2 separate regions of the Homo sapiens genome follow, and region 2 is linked to region 1. The links are contacts of gene promoters, found by promoter capture Hi-C in blood cells and fetal thymus (Javierre and others, 2016). All regions are on one chromosome and are shown on one strand. Each heading gives the region's core, a stretch centred on a gene start or on the middle of the fragment in contact. The rest is flanking DNA. Distances are from core to core; before and after follow the strand shown. Region 1 holds the start of CEP97 (centrosomal protein 97). Region 2 has its middle 100 kb from the start of ZPLD1.

Region 1 (3,590 bases), core at 783-3,282:
ACAACTTCGTTACCACCTGCAGCCTGTGCTGTCTTTTCACCTTTTACTTTAGAACTAACTGTTCAGTCTACCCATCAAAAGATGGGTACATTTACTTCCTCCATCAAGTCTTCACTGAAGATTTCAGATTCTATTTCTTTCTCAATTCCCTGAAATATTAGTGAGCTCAGTCACAATCACACCGTTTAGCATATAATAGTTGCATCAAAAGAAGGCTCGGCGCCGTTGCTCACGCTTGTAATCCCAGCACTTTGCCGGGCTGAGGCAGAAGGATCACTTGAGCTCAGGAGTTCAAGGCCAGCCTGGGCAAAAAAAAATTGTCTCTAAAAAAAAAAAAAGAAAAAAGTGTGAGCCTGCTTTCTTCCAACTAGGCAATGTATTTCTTGAATTTGGAGACTATATAAAAATATATTTATATACATAATCTATATTTATATATAAATATATAACATATATAATATATAATATATAAATATATAACATATATAATATATAATATATAAATCTATAACATATATAATATATAATATATAACATATATAATATATAATATATAATATATATAACATATATAATATATAATATATAACATATATAACACATATAATATATAAATATATAACATATATAATATATAACATATAACATATATAATATATAAATATATAACATATATAATATATAATATATAAATATATAACATATATAATATATAATATATAAATATATAACATATATAATATATAATATATAAATATATAACATATATAATATATAATATATAAATATATAACATATATAATATATAAATGTATAACATATATAATATATAAATATATAACATATAACATATATATCTAAATATATAACATATATAATATATAATATCTAAATATATAACATATATAATATATAATATCTAAATATATGACATATATAATATATAATATCTAAATATATAACATATATAATATATAATATATAAATATATGACATATATAATATATCTAAATATATAACATATATAATATATAATATCTAAATATATAACATATATAATATATAATATCTAAATATATAACATATAATATATAATATCTAAATATATAACATATATAATATATAATTTATATATAATTATAATATATGCAATATCTATATAAAATATATATATTTTTGAGACATAGTTTCGCTCTTGTTGCCCAGGCTGGAGTGCAGTGGCATGATATCGGCTCACTGCAACCTCTGCCTCCCGGGTTCAAGCGATTCTCCTGCCTCAGCCTCCCGAGTACCTGGGATTACAGGCATGCGCCGCCACGCCAGGCTAATTTTTTTGTATTTTTACTACAGACGGGGTTTCTCCATGTTGGCCAGGCGGGTCTCGAATTCCCGACCTCAGGTGATCAGCCTGCGTTGACCTCCCAAAGTGCTGGGATTACAGACGTGAACCACTGCGCCCGGCCTGGAGATTATATTTTAAAGTTATTTTGAATACTCCCTGGAAAAGTTCTTGGTTCATACTTATACCCGTAAGTCAAAAGATTTGTCAAATATTCAAGAACAATCAAACAATCACTTAAAAATACTGTATAAAAGTTTCTATTTCGGCATACTTTACTTTTACTTAACTAAAATTTCAAATAAAATGTATCCACTTTTATGATCTCAACAAGATCGGTCATTCCTATAGCGGAGTTGAAAACTTTCAACTTATTCACAATTATCAAAAGAATGGAGCAGCCCCCACAGAGACTTCCAGCAATGAGTTGTAAAATGCAGTCTGCATTAAGTAGCTTCCTTACAATCATCCCGATGGTAAAAGTGTCAAATTTCGCAAACGCCTGGACAAGGAAGTGAAATGATCATCTAATAACGCAGTTGACTCATCTGTCAAATAAGCGAGTGGGCCAGGGTCCCTGAGCTCACTACCCTCAGATTCTAACTCCAGCTTCACATCATTAGGCGTAAGCAGCCAATTGGGCCGTCTGGGAGCCGTGCATCCTGGGAGTTATAGTTTCCGGCTCCCTCCTTCAGATTACAAGCTCCACAGAGCCGCGGGAGGACGGTTGCCTGGTATTATTAGCAAGCAGCAAATATGGCGGTGGCGCGCGTGGACGCGGCTTTGCCTCCCGGAGAAGGTAAGGCGATCCCTACCCCGAGTCCTAAGGTTTACTTCACGGAGCTGAATTAAATAGTGGAGAGCAGAAAACCTAGGTTTAGATGTGCAGTTCTGGACCAGTTCTTTTGATGCGGATCTGTGGTCGTCGCGGAGGCGGGCTACCCTCTGGGAGTTGTAGTTCACCTGCCGTTCCCAGCTCTCCGGCGTCGCGGTGAGGGCCGAGCGGGGGACTACAGCCCCCAGAAGCCTTCGCGCGGCCCGGCGCCCTGGCTCCCGCGCTCCCGATGCTGAGGAGGCGGTGGATTTCGGGCTGCGATGACCTTTCTTGACCATTTACTTTGAGTCATGGGTGCCTAAGCGAAATGTTTGGGATCTCCCTCTTTCGCTTCACACATCTCCCTCTCTTCTTGGTTCCTGGAACCATCAGGAAAACCTTCCCTCAGAGACCGCTGCCTAGTCTGGCTTTGAACCCTTCCTCGGAGGTGGCCAGTGGCCGTGATAAAATCTAAGGGATGATCCAGAGCCCGCAGTTCTGTACTCCTTGTTCTTGCACACGGGTCCTAGGATCGAGTTTGGTCGCTGCCCAGTAGAGCACAGGACTGTGTGGGTGCTTCTGTGGCCTGAAGATACCTACCTCTTTGGGGCGCCGGACGCGAGCTGCTTTTGTTTTGGTTACAGCTCCGAGGCTTGGCAGCAGTCAGTCCTCTAAATCGGGGACAGGGCCCAGGGGTCGAGGCCCGTCTTCATGGCTTAGACCAGGAGTGCATTTTCTGGGAGCTGTAAATTCTTGGGGGAAGAGTTGGTGGATGGTTCTCAGACCTCTCTGTCGACCCCTTGGAATTGTGTACAAAGGCTGTGCACTTTTCTGAGACAGCACACCCCTTTCATCAATTTTTCAGAGGGGCTCACGACTCCTCACATGCTAAGAGCCATTAGACAACGGGAAAACGTTGAAATCCTCCAGGAGAGCAATCTGGCATAATTATTTCCTGCAGTAGTCCTAATCTGGGTGTAAATTTGAAATTGGCCGTTTCTCTGGCCCCGCCCTCTTTGGAGATCGGCTTTTCTTAAACCACACCTCTCAAGCCCACCAGGGCTACTTAACTGTTAATAGCAGTTAACATTTACAGAGCACTTTGTATGACCCAGGCGATGTTCTCAGTCCTTTTTTTTTTTGTTTTTTTTTTTACATTATCTCATTTTCTCTGTAGAACTACATTTATAAGGCAGGTATTATCCCCACTTTACAGAGTAGAAAAGGGAGCCCAAAAGAAATCAATAATTTGCCTAATATACCACAATGGTTAATTGGTGGAGCCAGGGTTTGAACGTCTATGTTATACTAAAGTGCCTTATTGAGTGCCCGGTGGCAGGAACGGGGCTAAGTACTATTCATATGGTTTCTCTTTTAATTCTCATATCAAGCTAGGGAAATGGGTGTATTATCCTATTTTATGGGAGAATTAGTTGA
Region 2 (3,590 bases), core at 468-2,967, 810 kb after region 1:
AAGTAGCTGGAATTATAGGCACCTGCCACCATGCCCAACTAATTTTTTTGTATTTTTAGTAGAGACAGGGTTTTGCCATGTTGGCCAGGTTGGTCTCCAACTCCTGACCTCAGGTGATCCCCCTGCCTTGGCCTCCAAAAGTGCTGGGGTTACAGGTGTGAGCCACCGGGCCCAGCATAGGCTGATTTTTCTAAAACAACTCTTTCACAGTGTTGCTCTGGTGCTCCTCGAAATGGTGTTTGCTGTCAAATTAAATCTACTCTTCTGCTTGCTTCTCATGGCCTTCCACAATCCAAACCCCACTCCGCCAATCTTTCTCTGTTTCCCCCTTTTAAGTAGCATCCACCCACATTACCTTTCCTCATTGATTCTGGCTTAAATGAACACTTGTTCAATCCCAGTTGCAAGGTCAATCTGTCTGGAAGGTTCTCCTCTTGCACCTTTCCCCTTCTCACATGTCAATATCCTTCCCATCCTTCCAGGATGTGTTCAAGTTTGAATCATCTATTATTTTTCTTTCAACTTCCTCCTGCCTTCCCTACTCTCTCTGAGCTCTGAGTGCAGAAATATTATGTCAGAACTACTGTGTTTACTGTGCTTTACCAACATATGTGCTTCTTGAGGTGAGAGATTATGGTTTATCTTCCTCAGTAATTCTCACAGTGTCATAATGTCCAGCACAATGCTGTGTAGTAGATGACCATGTAACATTAGTGGGTAATTACATGAACTTGTAGTGGTAGCATTTTCTGGGTCATCATCTATAGGCCAGTGGGATGATATTTTCTCAAGATAATTTTAAAAGGCAAGAAAAAAGAAGGCTTCTTATTTCTAATTTCCAGATAAGATATCCCCTACCTTGTCCCTGGATGATAGAACTGGATATTGTAAAATAATAGTAATTAGTATTTGAATGCCATTTAACTCTTTATAAAGCACCTTAACTGATATTTGCTTATTCATAATTCTGTAAGTTCTTCCAAAATTACTATACACTTTGAGGCTGGTGGTGTGATGTGTGAAGATGAGATAGAGGAAGTAAGCGTGGAGGATTTGGATTTGCAAAAACATTTGATAATGTATTGCTTTTCATTGGTCTCAAGGAGGTCTATTTCTAGGAGTATTGAGAAAGATATATATGTGTATATGTTTACCCATTTACCAGAAAATGGGTTTACTTCTCTAACGTTTTAGCAATAAAAAGAATTCCAGATATGCAGCAAATAAATCTGACTGTTAGTCAGCCCTCAGGAGCTGCTGATAGCAAAAGACTGAAGATCCTATATTTCTATATTCAGATCATACTACTGAGGGATTTCAAGCTTCTCTTTCTCAAGCCAGCTTTTATGGTTTAATAGTTTTTCTGTTATGAAAATAAAGCAGATGACACAAAATTTCAGAGAAAGACAGCAAAAGTAAGAGCCAAAGAAAAGAAGGAGTGGAAGTGAAAAACGCTTCAGTGAAAAAACTGGAGAGCTGACACTTTGGCACCGAAATGTTAATGCTTATTTTTAAGATTATATCGCCACCTAGTAAATAAGCTCAGAAATACAACCACAGAAAATGACAGCTTGTCTGGTGCTGAGCTCTAATCCTCTGGTTAGCAATTCCTGGGAGCACCTTTCCTTCTAAACATCTGCACACACAAATGTGCTACCTGCGCACGCTTTTAGAGTTCTCGTTGTTCAGGCTCAGCCCACGTTCTCCTGTTCATTTAGAGCAATGTGATGGAAAAGTCAACAGCACACATTTTAGAAATGAAAACAAGCCAAGGATTTCTATCAAGGAACCTGTTATCTACTCTTGAAAAATGATTAGTTAAAACCATACATATTATCATTTGCCAGTTCTGAATAATTCTGGGATTTTCATTAATGAAAATATTTTGCATTTTCTACTTTCATTTCTGTATAGAACCGAAGTGGTCTGTTCATGGTCTTTCTTGGTTAGGAAGCATTGGAACTAGGGAATTAAAAACACTAAAGACTGCTTAAAATTTTTCTTGTCTTTAGTTTTTCTGTTATTGTGAACAATCTTTTATTTCTTCTGCAGTGTTTGTTTGTACTGAATGCTTTATGCTTGATCACCCACCCTGATTCTGTTTTTGTACAAAAAGCTTGTTAGCTTGATAAAGCACTGCATAGGGTTTTAGTTGGTTGCTCAATAGATGATTATCTGGGTGGCATCCTGGCTATAGCCCTTGCTAGTTCCAATTTTGTAATCTGTGAGCTAGGGATAACAATAGTGCATACATCACTGGGCATTTGGGAGAAATAAATTAAGCAGCAAGTACTCAAAAATGTTAACTATTATTATTAATAATAAAAATAGATCGATTAGAAATGGTAGAAACAAAGGATAGAGACTGATTTCATCTTGCTCAATAGATCAAAATGGCACAGGAGATAAAAAGGTTTTAACCAAACACATAGATACAGATAAAGAAGGCATATATTCTGAGACTAGAAAACCATTCATTCTTAAAAATTCAGGTGATTAAATTTTAAAAAATTATTAAATTTTAATCATATTTAAAAATGATTGAATTCAAGTACTTAGAAACCTTGAAAATATACCTCCATTATTTTTTTCTATGCTATCTTTTTTTGAACGAAATCTATCCTCACTTCAGCCTTCCAAATAATAACTCCATTTTATTTTGAGGGCTGTTTAGAATAAACATGATTAAAGAAATTAGCCAAGAGTTTAGGGTATGAAGTGGGAGAGGGGAGATTTTTGTTACGAGAGCCTTTTTCATGGGGGTTATCAGGCATAAAATTATCAATTTTGTTTAACCCAGACGTGGCAGATTCTGCTATTTATCCCAGAATAACCATTGTTTTTCTTTTTCTTTCAATAGAACTTTGTGCTGGTACATGATTATACAGCCAAATATGCCCTAGCTTCTTAAGTGTGGCATCAACTGTGTGATATGTGCTAACTTTGGTGCCATGCCTTCATGAAGAACATGCATTTTCTTCTCCCCTTGTCTTTTTCTACCTTTCTGCTGGCTGGAATGTGGATATGATGATGGGAATGGAACAGCCACTGAACCAAGAGAAGGAAGCTAAGTTTTAAAGAGAAATAGAGCAACAAGATAAAGGAAGCCTGGCTTCCCATCACTTCTGATGTGCCGTAACAGCCCTGGAATGCCTATGCAGACCTTACATGAGAAATAAGCCAATGCCTGTCTGACTTAAGCTTAAATATTTTTTTTTAGTTTCTTTATTACAGTAGCCTAAACTGTACTACAACTAATTCTAATGGTCTACAAAGAGTCACAAGCCCTAGAAATATGAATATAAAATTATAGATGTTAAGTTTGACGTCTGCACGCTGCAAGGCACTGCTTCCTAAAGAGTGGTCTTTCATTTGATATTGGACTTTTATCAAAGAAAAAAGACTTTTAATGTACACCAAAAAAGGTCCTCTTAATAGGTGGTAGGAGGATTCTATTGTGTGGGGCTATCAAAGCGGTATCCCGCTTTCTTAAAAAAAAATGGAGAGGCTACGAAGAAATTAACTCAGGATAGAAGGTGGCTTGTCTGGTTACCTGGCATCCAAGCTTCTTGTAGAACAAAAAAACAAGT

The links. The method cuts DNA at HindIII sites, captures the fragments that hold promoters and counts their contacts. A CHiCAGO score of 5 or more calls a contact.
Region 2: a contact is called between a fragment that was not itself captured here and the fragment with the promoter of CEP97 in region 1, in 1 of 17 cell types (total CD8 T cells). The highest score is 6.2, in total CD8 T cells.

Annotation. Positions count from the first base shown.
Region 1 is chr3:101,722,582-101,726,171 of GRCh38, forward strand. It overlaps CEP97 (centrosomal protein 97), which reads left to right and starts at 2,033. Exons shown (of 11, transcript NM_024548.4): 1 at 2,033-2,138. The coding sequence starts at 2,096. RefSeq lists enhancers at 2,009-2,378, 2,659-2,728, 2,900-3,511. The HindIII fragment of the contact is 6,095 bases long and covers 1-3,590 here.
Region 2 is chr3:102,535,151-102,538,740 of GRCh38, forward strand. No RefSeq gene overlaps it. Among named protein-coding and RNA genes, the nearest start is that of ZPLD1, 100 kb to the left of the region's middle. RefSeq lists a silencer at 1,375-1,669. The HindIII fragment of the contact is 794 bases long and covers 1,321-2,114 here.